Linked DNA regions of Homo sapiens: region 1 is linked to region 2. The links are contacts of gene promoters, found by promoter capture Hi-C in blood cells and fetal thymus (Javierre and others, 2016). All regions are on one chromosome and are shown on one strand. The core of a region is centred on a gene start or on the middle of the fragment in contact, and the rest is flanking DNA. Distances in the headings are between cores, read along the strand shown.

Region 1 (6,076 bases), core at 2,388-4,887, 260 kb after region 2:
CGAAGGAAGGAAAATTCAAAGAGGTTAGACCCTAGGTCATGTCACGATCTTAAAGGCCATGCTAACAGTTTGGAATTGTACAATAAGAATGATGGGAAAGCATTGGAGAGTTTGAAGGTGAGTAGTGGCAGAATCCCACCTGTTTCTGACAGAAGTCCCCCTGGCACTGGATGAGGAATAGATTATAGGGGCTGTGAATGAGAACAGAGATTATTAATAAGGAAACAGTGATTCCCTTCCACAAAGTAGATTCTGTTAATTGGTAGAGAGTATTCATCAGAACACGTAGCAGGGTTGGGAAAGGAGGCAAAATAAGTAGAAATAAGGAGTTTATGGTCTAGTTGAGATGAAATATTTTCAGAACATTGCAAATGAGAAAGATAATGTCATGAAGCTAAACCAAGTGACATATTTATATACTTTAAAGGTTAGCCTGAAACCAAAGCCAATTAGACTCCATGTGTATAATGAGGACTTTAATATCACATGCTTTGAAATATTACGTATTTTTCATAACCTGTCCTTCAGAAGCAATCACATGGTATCATTCGATCAAATTTAAAGTGATGTCCTTGGATTTTTGCAGTAGGAAACTTTGACATTTTAGTGGAGATGTTTAAAATTATTATCATTTTTCTGGATCTCATGTTTTAGGAATGTACAGTGTAAAATATCTTGTCATAGAAGTCACATTAAAGTGATGTTAATGTGAAATTTAAATCTGGAAAAGCCCCCAAGTGGTTTATCTGTACTTGAAGTTACTTGTTTTTCTGTTCTTTTCCTCTCCAATACATGCAGGAAAATACATACTTTTTTGACATTCATATAGATTGTTCTTATTACAATCATCCATTCATCCGTTTGCCCAACAAACATTTATTGACCACCTACATTGTATCTTTTTTGTTTTTCTTTAAATAACATACTACTATTAGTTGAAAGTATGTGAGCATTTGTCTACGGGAGTGTTTTGACTTTACCAGAGTACCTTTTCAATTTCTGTCTTTGTTGTATCTTCATTTTACTGTTAATTCTGCAGGGGTTCTCGTTTATCTTTGAATTGTAATTCTTATTGAAAGTAAAATAAAAAAATTATGCATAAGTATATAATTTGACCACTTTTCCAAATTTCTATAATATGGGCTTTTATAGCTTTTTAAAAAAGCAGGAATAGTTTCTTTTTAAAAAAAAAAAATACATTGCATTTTCAAAGTGGCTGTAGTTTGAACAATTTTGAGAGTAGAGCAGAAAATTGGAAACCAAGTCATTTAATCTTTAATGGGTAAATAACTCTATTGTAATCCTCTTAACGTGTTGTATGAATTATGATGACTTAAATTTGCATAGACTATTCTCTCCTGAGTCTAAGAGATTATGTACATTGAGTTGTAAGGTACTTTTGAAGGTATGTCATTGGATAACGAAATGTGTGGCACTTCTTTAAATTCCCCAGTGATCTCTCACTGGGAAGGGCATCCCACCCACCCCCACTTCCCCAAGGGACGATGTAATCATAGAGATGGTAATGAAGTTAAGTCAGTCCAAAAGCTTTTTCCTCTGCTGAATATTGCAAGTGCCTACTCCCCTCACCCTCCTCACCTCACTTTCTGCGCTCCTCACCCTTCTTAGCTCACAGTATGAAGGGGCCCCTTAGGAGCGTCATTGATTTTTCTTTAAGATTTCTGAATAGTGACTGGGTGCGGTGGCTCACGCCTGTATTCCCAGCACTTTGGGAGGCCGAGGAGGATAGATCACCTGAAGTCAGGAGTTAGAGACCAGCCTGGCCAACATGGCAAAACCCCGTCTCTACTAAAAATATAAAAATTAGCTGGGCATGGTGCTGCACGCCTATAATCCCAGCTACTGGGGAGGCTGAGGCAGGAAAATCACTTAAACCTGGGAGGTAGAGGTTGCAGTGAGCCGAGATCGCGGCACACTGCACTCCAGCCTGAGTGACAGAGCGAGACTCCGTCTCAAAAAAAAAAAAAAACCTGAATAGTGGGGTTTATTAGGAATTATTCTCACACTTCTGACATGAGGGGGTGCTTCATGATGACTCTTGAATATTGACATTTCAAGTTTCTAAGGACAGTTCTGCTGTCCCTCAGGCAGGTTGGGAGCCATTGTTTAAGAGCCAGACACAGCAAAGTTAAATTTGCTTTAATGGTTTAATTTAGGGAGAAATAATTTTCACGTTGCTCATTGAGCTTTCAACTCTGAGTTTGTCTTCCTATTTTGAATTGTTTTTCTTTACCTGTTTCTTTTTGCAAAAAAAGGGGACAGGGTAATTTACTCTGTGGCATATTTAGCACGCCTGAGGGAATGAATGTGGGCTGCTGTCAGAATGTTTGTTGTACAGAGAGTTAAGGTGGTATTGAGGAGGGAGATTGTAGGAGTTGGAGTGGTGAGGGAAGGCCTTACAGAAAATGCAGACTATGAAGTGGGCCTCAGGGAGGTTAGAAAACTGGAAAGGCCCAGAATGTGCAGATAAGGGCAAAGAAGGGCCTTGGAGGCAGGAGAGGGAGGACTGCCCAAGCTGTAACACAGGAATAAGCATTTCAAGTGTAGGGGCCACTGAAGAGGCCATTCCGTGCAGAGAAAGGCCAAGGAACTACCTCAAGAATATATGAAATGGCGTTTGGGTGGGTCGGTTGTGCTCAGTTGGTGATCAGCCAAGCAGTTTTCACTGGTTTCTGGAGGTCGCAACTATCAAAGATTCTCAAGCAGGGTGGAAAAGCTGGCGCTCACAAACCTCTTCATAAGCCTGCTCCAGAATCTGTCAGAATTCTCATCTTTTCTTTCATTTTATGCTGTTCTGTTGTTCTTTCTTGTGTAACCTTTCCTTTCTTCCAATAGGTCACTGCTGTCTGTTCTGACTTATTGCTAATTCTTTGCTCTTCCTTTTCTGACCTCTCTAGAGCCTAGAAGAGGAGATAACATCAATTTTGTTTAGTGAAAAGGGCTTTTCTGATAGCATGAAAGCCACCTTCACTTCAGCCACCACTTGGACAGCAGAGGGCGCTGTTGTGAGCGCTAATGCACCTTCTGAAAAGCTTTCTTCCTCGCCCTTCTCACACTTGCTTGAGGTGCATTTTACTTTGTTTCCCCTGTTACTAAAAGCCACATATGAGAGAGATTTTCATTTTTTTAAATATTCAGGCACCATTCCCTCCAGTGCTTTCATTGGTGAAATTAATTCTTCCTGGGAGAAACATTCAAGAAACAATGACTGAATTGGAACATGAAGAAAAGATATAGATTGGATGTTTCTCCTGCTTCTTTGGTCAAAGAAAAAAAAAATCTGCCTAAATTCAGAGAATAATTTAAATCATTAAGTTCCAGAGTCTGGGCTGTTAAGCAGAGGGAAACCCTCAACCAGATATGCTTTGCAGAGTTGACATTTTCAAAACCCCAAATTTCAGGCATCCTCTGATGGCATGTTATTTTTAAAATTCTGTTTATATGGAAAAAATCTGAAGTGCCTCCCATGCTCCATGACATAATTGCTTTTGAATGACCCTAAGGAATTCCCTGAACTTGGGCAGAACCTATCCAGCTAATTGAGGTTAAGATATAACAATAATAATAATTCACTGATCTATAATAATAATGAAATGTGTGTTTCAGAAATGTTCTGGTCACTGGATATGTTTATTATATGTAGTCATGGTTAAATTTTACCTGCTTATCAAAATAGATTGAGAGTTTTTTCAGTTTAATATCTAGAAACCTCTGAGTTTTCAATAAAACTGGAAAGATAGCTGTCTTCTGTTAGTAATGTGATTTACATGGTATTAATTTGGGTCAATGAAACCATGCCCTTACCATGTGTTTAAGAATAATAGGGCAGGTCCAAGAGAGTTTGTGAGTAGACGTTGACAGTGCTGCAGAGACGTGTGTGTGTGATGTTAGGATCTTCAGCTCATGGTTGTCCAAGTGTCTGGGAGAGATGAACTCAGCCCTGCTGTCTATTAGAGGCTCCAGTCCAGTTAGTACCTTGGCAGCTTCACAACAATATCCAGAGGGCTCAGTGGTGTGGTGCCCTTCTCCATCCAGAATGGAGTCACTTTCGTGAATAAATAGGGCTCCTGGCTCTAGCTGAATTATTTTTAAGTTAGATCATAGGCAGTAGTACCACCTAGAAGTCAAAAAGTTGGCCATGCTTGAGTTATATCATTGTAAAGCAGACTTTTTGTAAGTGTGAGAAAAATGTGAAGCTTTAAAAACCCCTCTGTACAAAAAGGTTTCCACCCTAGTTAATAATATCATAACATAGTAATTTGTTCCTAATGTATTAAGTCAACAGATATTTATTGAACATTTAGGTGCTATATTACTCAACTGGAGTAAATTACTTTACTCCCAAGAAGTAGATGTCTGAAGGGGATAGGAGTGAACATGTCAAATAATAAACTTGACTGAGTTTAGATTTCAAAGATGCTAGTAGAGGAGCTAAATTGTAAAAGGAAACACTTGGAGTCACCATTGACACCCACCCTATTGTATAATATAGCCTTTGCCAACCTATGATACGAATTGGAAAGTTAATAACCATTTCTGGAATGAACATTTTCATGTTAATAGCCTTCTGAGGCTAACTATAATTTTGCCAATTAAAACTTTTTTTTTTTTTTTAAAGAAAACCAGCAAAAAATAAAAGTGCCATCTCCTTGGTGCTGTGTTCATTTAAGAATCAGCGTTCCAGGCTAGACTTTATAGTCTGATTAAAACCAAAACTGTTACTAGGTTTTAAAAGTTAAATTTTTTTCTTTAAAATGATGAGTCAGCTTTGGTATAATTCAATTTTTGTAAACTGTTTTAACTACATAGGTAGAGCTTATAGGTATATCTATAATAAAAGCATTTTACTTCTTTGGGAGGATGCTGGCTGTTTTTGTGTCTTTTTGTAAGCTTTTTGGCATTTGTCTTGATTGTCCTCTATGTGACCTTGAGCAGAGGTTTCTGTAGATGTTGATTCTTGCTGTTTTGTCTTTGCAGTGTCAGATGTTTGTTTCAGTGGTTGTTGAGGTAAAACTGTATTGATTTTGTGTCCTCGGTTGCTTTTTGTTCTGCAGACACGTGCTCCCGAGTCAGAAGGGCCTTGCACTGGAGCCAGGGATGCTGTTAAGGTTCTCCCCTTTTTCCATGTTAACACCATTGCCTCACGTTTCTCATTGCCCTCACGTTTGCCCCGCTTCCCTTTCAGTCAGCCATCATAATCATCTTTGTTTTTCTCCATGACATGAATCTGCCATCGGTTAATTTGGGTTTCCGTTGTTTTTATTTATTCATATATTTTTGTTTTCCCTCATCCATCTTTTTTTGTACAGAGTTCACATGAGACTCTGAATATAGTGGAGGAGAAGAAGCGGGCAGAGGTTGGGAAAGACGAAAGAGTAATCACAGAAGAAATGAATGGTAAAGAGATATCACCTGGGAGTGGTCCTGGGGAGATTCGTAAGGTGGAGCCTGTGACACAAAAAGACTCCACCTCCCTGTCTTCTGAGAGCAGCAGCAGCAGCAGTGAGAGTGAGGAGGAAGACGTGGGAGAGTACCGTCCCCACCACCGAGTGACCGAGGGCACCATCAGGGAGGAACAGGAGTATGAAGAAGAGGTGGAGGAAGAACCCCGCCCGGCAGCCAAGGTAGTAGAGAGGGAGGAAGCAGTGCCCGAAGCCAGCCCAGTCACACAAGCAGGTGCCAGTGTAATCACAGTAGAAACAGTGATCCAGGAAAATGTAGGTGCCCAAAAGATACCCGGAGAGAAGAGTGTACACGAAGGCGCTCTTAAGCAAGACATGGGAGAAGAAGCAGAGGAAGAGCCACAGAAAGTTAACGGAGAGGTGTCCCATGTTGACATTGATGTTTTGCCACAAATTATTTGTTGTTCAGAGGTAAATGGGAGTCCCAGGTGGGAGCCAAACTCTAGAGCTGCTTCTCAGATGGGGAACTCCTGCCTTTCTTCTCCTGTCCTCCCAGTTCTTCAGCTTTTTTCAACAAGAATCTGATTTTTCTCTCTCATGGGAGGAAGGGGGAAGCACTGCTTTGTGGATTTTCTGCCCGCCCAGTTCATGGG
Region 2 (6,229 bases), core at 1-2,500:
GTTAATAGTGTCCGAAAATGGATGAAAGGAGGAAGTAACCTCCACAAACATCTTAAACTTTATGAGTAAGGAAAATATACAGATATGCTAACAGGATCCTGAATTGCAAAGCCACGGCACTTAAACAAGGAACTGGAGTATGGCTCTTTTCTCCTTAACAATTTCCATTCCCATGCATTTCCTAAATGCAAAAACTCACTGTCATCATTCACTTAACAATTGTCAACATATTCACACGATTAACTGCTATTTATATAGTACACTTTAACGTTTTTATGCTTTTTATACTCTTCTATGAGTTTATCCTATGAAACTCTTGCAGAGGAGCACCTTTTCTCTAATTGGTTTGCGGACCCTTTTACCGAAAGTCCACCCCTAACTCGCTCTATCACAAAGTTCAGTTCACAACAAACGCTGACCTAAACTGGAAATTCATTCCGGGCGCTAGTGTAGACTTGGCGCCAGTTTTAAAAGCGGTCATGTCCAAACCTGGCAGAAAATCCTAAATGAGACAGTATGGTGGTTCGGGTGCTTAATATTTGTGATATAAGATAAAATCGAAATTTTACTAGGTTTTGTTTACATTTACCCACATCAACACCGTCGGAAGGAATGTGTACTGGCATGAACTTTGTGCAAAGGGTCACAGGATGAGAAAGGGAGAAAGAAAAGTGAAACTCGGGGATGGGCTCATACCCCCGCCTCCTGTCGGACCCACAATGCGTGCATTAAAACGCTTCGCTACAGGCAGCACTGATGTACACCCCGGTTGCACCGGGCTTCTCGGTGCTACCCTGAGTCCTTTTGGGAAGGAGGGAGACTCGGAGAAGGGCCGGCGCGGGTCAGGCCCTCCCAAAGTTCGAGCGCAGAGCAGGCCCAGGCCCCCGCGGCTCCTGTCGCCCCCGCCCCGGCCCGCTGGACAGCCCGGTCTCACCCGCTTCGGGGCGCTCCATGGTCGCGGCGCATGCGGGCGGCGCGTCTGGGCTGGCGGCAGCGGCGGTGGCGGGCCGCGTCCCGGGGCTGGAGGCGAGGCCGAGGCGGAGGCCAGGGCGGGGCTCGGGGCCTGAGGGCGGTGCGCTGGGCCGGCGCGGGGTCCAGCGACAGGCTGCGGGGGCCCGGGCGGCGGAGGCCAGGCCTGCGGAAGCGCGGAGCTTCCCAAGCCGCAGCCCCCGCGGCAGCGGCAGCAGCGGCGGCGGCAGCCGCAGCAGCCGCAGCACCCGCATGCCAGGCCGGACGCCGGAACAAGCCAGAAGGGGCCGACCCGAGTCGCCGGTGGTACCCGGATTCGGGCGAGAGGCGCGGACGCGCTCGGGCAGGGCGGGGGAAACTAGGGCCGGCGACTGCGGCGTCACGGCAGCCCAGGTCGTCTCGACTCTGCAATGCGACGCTGGGTCTTCGCCTGCCTGCCGAGCCCCGCGGCCTCCGACGGCCTTTGGCAGCCCTCATTTATTTCCCGTGGCGCAGCCTTGCCCCTCCCACGCTTTCAAGGGCGAGATTGGGACTAGGATGAAAGAATTCTCTGGCCTGGTGTCTTTTGAGAATCCATGTGCTTAGTTTTGCAATCAGGGTTCTGATTGCAGAATATTTGGGAAGAGCGAAATGTACAAGAACGAGACCTTGTACTTCTGTATAATGAGATACTTTATTTACCTTACTTTTAAAAACTGCAAATTGTGACAAAGTCTCTAATTTTTAACAATGATGTTATGTTTAGACATTAAGAGGAAACCAGTTGCTGGTTCTTGTAGTATAAGGTACTGCAGTGAGTAAATTGGGAGAAAAAGAAATTTACTTAGTTTAAAAAAATAAAAACCTTTCACTTGAAACGGAATGCTATTGGGATTGGTTTTAGTGCGAAGAAACCAGGGGTTAAGAACATTAGGTGCATCCGTCCACAAATTAGCGCCTTTCGTGAATAATAACACTTCGCTTATGTTGAATGCATCGTAGAATAGGGATGGAAGAAAAGAAGACCCCTACACAGCCACAACAGCTGGCGTAAAGGCTGCACACTAGAAGTCGGCAAACTAGTTACTCTGATTTTCAAATAATTCTAACACGTTGAGTTTCTGATGCCCATTTATGGGCTGGTAGGAAAGTACAACCAGTTCCCCTAATATTTATTTAATGCTTGAGCTCTGTGCTGAGGATGTGCAGGTAAGACAGGTCTTTTACTTATGGAGCTGATCATATAATAGCAGAGAAAGAAACATAAGTAACTGCGGAAATAAAAGCTGCAAAAATGTGGTCCACATTCATAGTGAAGAGGATGAGAATATGCCACCCCAAATATGCCACTTCAGCATAAGGATTATTCTTGAGCTTAAAACAGTTCAGAAACTAAAGACTCAGGAACAACTTTGACCTCCCCCTTTCTGCCTAAAAGCAGGACATAAATTTCCCTTCGTAAAGGTGACATAAATTTTTATTTTTAAAGCTTTACCAGGCCGGGCCCAGTGGCTCACGCTTGTAACCCCAACACTTTGGGAGGTCAAGGCGAGTGGATCACTTGAGTCCAGGAGTTTGAAACCAGCCTGGGCAACATAGCAAAACCCTGTCTCTACCAAAAATACAAAAATTAACCAGACGTGGTGACCCATGCCTGTAATCCCAGCTACTCCAGAGGCTGAGGTGGGAGGATCGCTGGAGCCCAGGAGGTGGAGGTTGCAGTGAGCTGAGATGATGCCATTGCACTCCAGTGTGGACAACAGAGCCAGATCCTGTCTCAAACAAACAAACAAACAACAAAGCTTTACCACTCACCCATACCAGAAAGAGGAGAATGAGTCTTACCTGCATAACAAACCCATACATTTTCTAGTAACCTTCCCATACTGCAAAAAGGCTAAGCCCCCTTTTCCTTTGTCTAGCCTCTCCACACTTTATCATCGTTAAAATGGTATAGAAGCCCCCAGTTCTAACTGCCTCTTCGGGCTTTTAGTTCTTTCCTGTGAAGCATCTATGTGCATGTGTAATAATCCTTTTCTCGTCTTAATCTGTCTTTTGTCAATTTAATTTACACAGTCCAACCTAGTGAACTAAATGGGCAGGAGAAAGATTTTTCTTCCCCTGTGGTGTGTACCAAGAGATATATGGAAGTTTCATTCTCTTACCTAAGCAGAGGTAACAGCCCAAATGCCACATATTTTTCACCACCAGTATTATGAATACAGAGTCTTATCAACACCTACCATGTGGAGGAACATTTTAATTACCCAAGTCTGAAAAAGGAATTTTTCACAGAGCTTCTTTTAGAAATGACAGGGAGAAAGGGAAGTACAAGGTGAACCTTGGACATCTTCTTGTGCCAAAAAGCAAAGACAAATGGGGACTATCAAAAACACAAGGACTAGCGAGAAACAGCTTTCTTTGAGCAAATGGGAGATAATCTGACATCATAAAAGGATAACACCTGTAATTATTGTAACATACTGAATACAAAATCTATATACCCATAATAATACTCAAAAAATGAGGAAGAAAAACTAGTAGGCCACCATTAAAGGTGACAAGTACGCAATTCCTTAGTCTCCTTACTCTAAAAATTAAAGGGAAAGAAAGATTTACCATGACTTTTTAGAAGTAGTAGTATGGGAAAGCTGCTTTGCACAGAAGAATTTTCAATAATAAATATAGGAGACATAAAATAATTGGAAAATTACCATTTTGCCACCACAACTGATAACTGATTGATGCAAAGATCATCAATATATTCTAAAACCATTACATGAAAGGTTAATGTGGACCGAAATATTTATAAGTTGCCAAAATACTACCCCCCACAAAATACTTGGTAATTGCTCAGGAGAGAACATATTTTTACTCCATGTAAATAAACCTGGTTGTCACCACCTTTATCGTGATTAAACTCAGCATCATTAATGGTGGACAATCTGTGAAAGCTCCTGTGAAAGCTATATCATCACTGCAAGGTAGTCTTGCCATAAATATTTCACCTGAAGCTGCTAAGGCTTTAAATATAATTTTCAGATTTCCAGAAATACAGGAGATAGAGGTACAAGTAAAATAACATGATGAGGAAAGAATCAGACCAATCCAGAATGTGTGACATTCTAGAAAATAATTGGCTCAGGCTTTTCAAAATCTCGGTGGGGTGTTGTGGTCCAGGAACAGTGTGGTAGCTTAAAACTAAACCCTTCCAATCCAGTTGTTTTGGCACTGTGCCAGTGTATATTGTCCTCTGGGGAGAAAAGGGCTGTGTACTAATAGTCAGGGAGGAATGGGCAGAACATACGGAGGGAGAGGGAAGTGTGGACCAGAGGATCCATGCCCTCATGAGTCGTGCTGCAGGTGAACCTTCGTTAAAGCATTGGGCAACCTGGTTCTTTTTTGCTTTCATAAAACAAATTAATACCTATGAATTCATCTTTTTTTTTTTTTTCTGAGACGGAATCTCGCTCTGTCGCCCAGGCTGGAGTGCGGTGGCGCAATCTCGGCTCACTGCAAGCTCCGCCTCCCGGGTTCCCGCCATTCTCCCTGCTCTACTTCCCGAGTAGATGGGACCACAGGCGCCCGCCACCACGCCCGGCTAATTTTTTGTATTTTTTAGTAGAGACGGGGTTTCACTATGTTAGCCAAGATGGTCTCGATCTCCTGACCTCATGATCCGCCCGCCTCGGCCTCCCAAAGTGCTGGGATTACAGTTGTGACCCACCGCGCCTGGCCGAATTTATCTATTTAATTGATTTTCAATATTAACTGGTTCTGTCAATAACCAAACATCCTATAGGGATTTTTAAGATTTTTAAGCCTCTATGTCAGTTTGCCGATTATCTCTAACCTTAACTCATTCTCAGCACCATTTAGCAGTTATTAAATAGAGTTTGTTTCCCACATCAGTACATTGAACTGTCCTACTGCTGTCACAGGGGACCGCAGCTATGGTCAAGATCAGTAGGAACTGTCAGTGACCTCCTTTGGGGAACAGTCCCTGACCCCACCCTTCTACTTGGGTTAGGTACTCCACCTGAGGGCTTTAATACTCCTTGTGCCCGCTCTGACCATCCCTTTTGCCACATTTTTCTGTTTCATACATTAGACTTTACGCCACTAGAAGGCAAAGACTATGTTTTAAAGTCTTCGTATTCCCAAATGCATAGAGATTTCTCAATGAATAGACATTCAATGAATGAATAAAACTTTTATAAGCATCCAGATCCATTAAGTACTCAGATTTGTCAAAAAATAAAGCAGCACTCCCAGATAAATTTCAAAAAAAAAAAAAAAAAGAAAGAAAGAGAAACAATATCACGGGTAATCTTAATGTCCTACAGTTTTGTTGGCAAACAGCCTGTTGCGTGGCAAGAGTGGCGCCATCTTGAAGCAAAACCTCCATGAAGAGCAATGTCTGGCTCCTGCATGCAAAGGTGTTCTGCAGCAAGGTTTTTAAACCAAGCATCTAGCATAGACAACCCCTCATAAAGATGCTTATCTGACCTCCCCAGTGGTCATAAGTTTGAGATGGGACCAACTGCCCAAGTCTTAGAATACTTTCTGGAGGGTGGATGCGAGGATGTGTAATCTCATGGCCTCTGGAGAGTCACTTTGGTTCATAAGACCCTGTTAAATATTTCTTTCTGAAAAACTGGATTTGTCAGTCACTTTCTTCAGCCTCTCAGCTCCCACAACCCTTCAGGATAGGTTTGCATATACCTGCTCACGCCTGAACAAGCTTCTCCAGCTTAAGGCTAAAAATTAGCCAACATTAACTTTAACATCTAAATGTTTTTTCTTTTTTAAAAATTTTTTAATTTCTATTTTTTTCTTTTTTTCCCTGCAAAGCCAACTGCAAGTATAACATTAACATCTAAATCTTAATAGCTAAATGAACCTACCAACTCATGCCAAGACGCCAGTCCTTTGTGAAATTCCTCCAAAATACTTTTGGGTTTCCAAGTGGTGTCTGGCAAAACTAATCTAATGAATCATTCTAAGCTACCACCTGTTCCCAGCCCTTGCTTCACTGAGTTCCATTTGTCCAATCTTGACTCCGGAAAGTCCTCTGCCCTCGCGCACATCAGCTGCCTGCTAATTCACCTGGCCACAGTGGATTCTCCCAGTCTTCATGGTGACATCTCTTGCAAATGAAAAGAACAAGGTCAGCTGGGCACAGTGGCTCACGCTTGTAATCCCAGCACTTTGGAAGGCCGAAGCGGGTGGACAACCTGAGGTCAGGAGTTTGATACCAGCCTGACCAACATGGCAAAAC

What was found. Contacts are between HindIII fragments. The CHiCAGO score rates a contact against its expected background, and 5 or more counts as called.
Region 1: a fragment that was not itself captured here is called in contact with the fragment with the promoter of AKAP7 in region 2 in 2 of 17 cell types (M0 macrophages and M2 macrophages); the score reaches 5.6 in M0 macrophages.

Annotation. Positions count from the first base shown.
Region 1 is chr6:130,869,381-130,875,456 of GRCh38, reverse strand. EPB41L2 (erythrocyte membrane protein band 4.1 like 2) reads left to right here. Exons shown (of 20, transcript NM_001431.4): 15 at 5,331-5,894. Among named protein-coding and RNA genes, the nearest start is that of SMLR1, 45 kb to the right of the region's middle. The HindIII fragment of the contact is 1,164 bases long and covers 3,056-4,219 here.
Region 2 is chr6:131,130,488-131,136,716 of GRCh38, reverse strand. It overlaps AKAP7 (A-kinase anchoring protein 7), which reads right to left and starts at 1,250. Exons shown (of 8, transcript NM_016377.4): 1 at 935-1,250. The coding sequence starts at 953. RefSeq lists enhancers at 623-682, 1,119-1,619 and silencers at 943-1,052, 1,203-1,292. The HindIII fragment of the contact is 7,096 bases long and covers 1-2,439 here.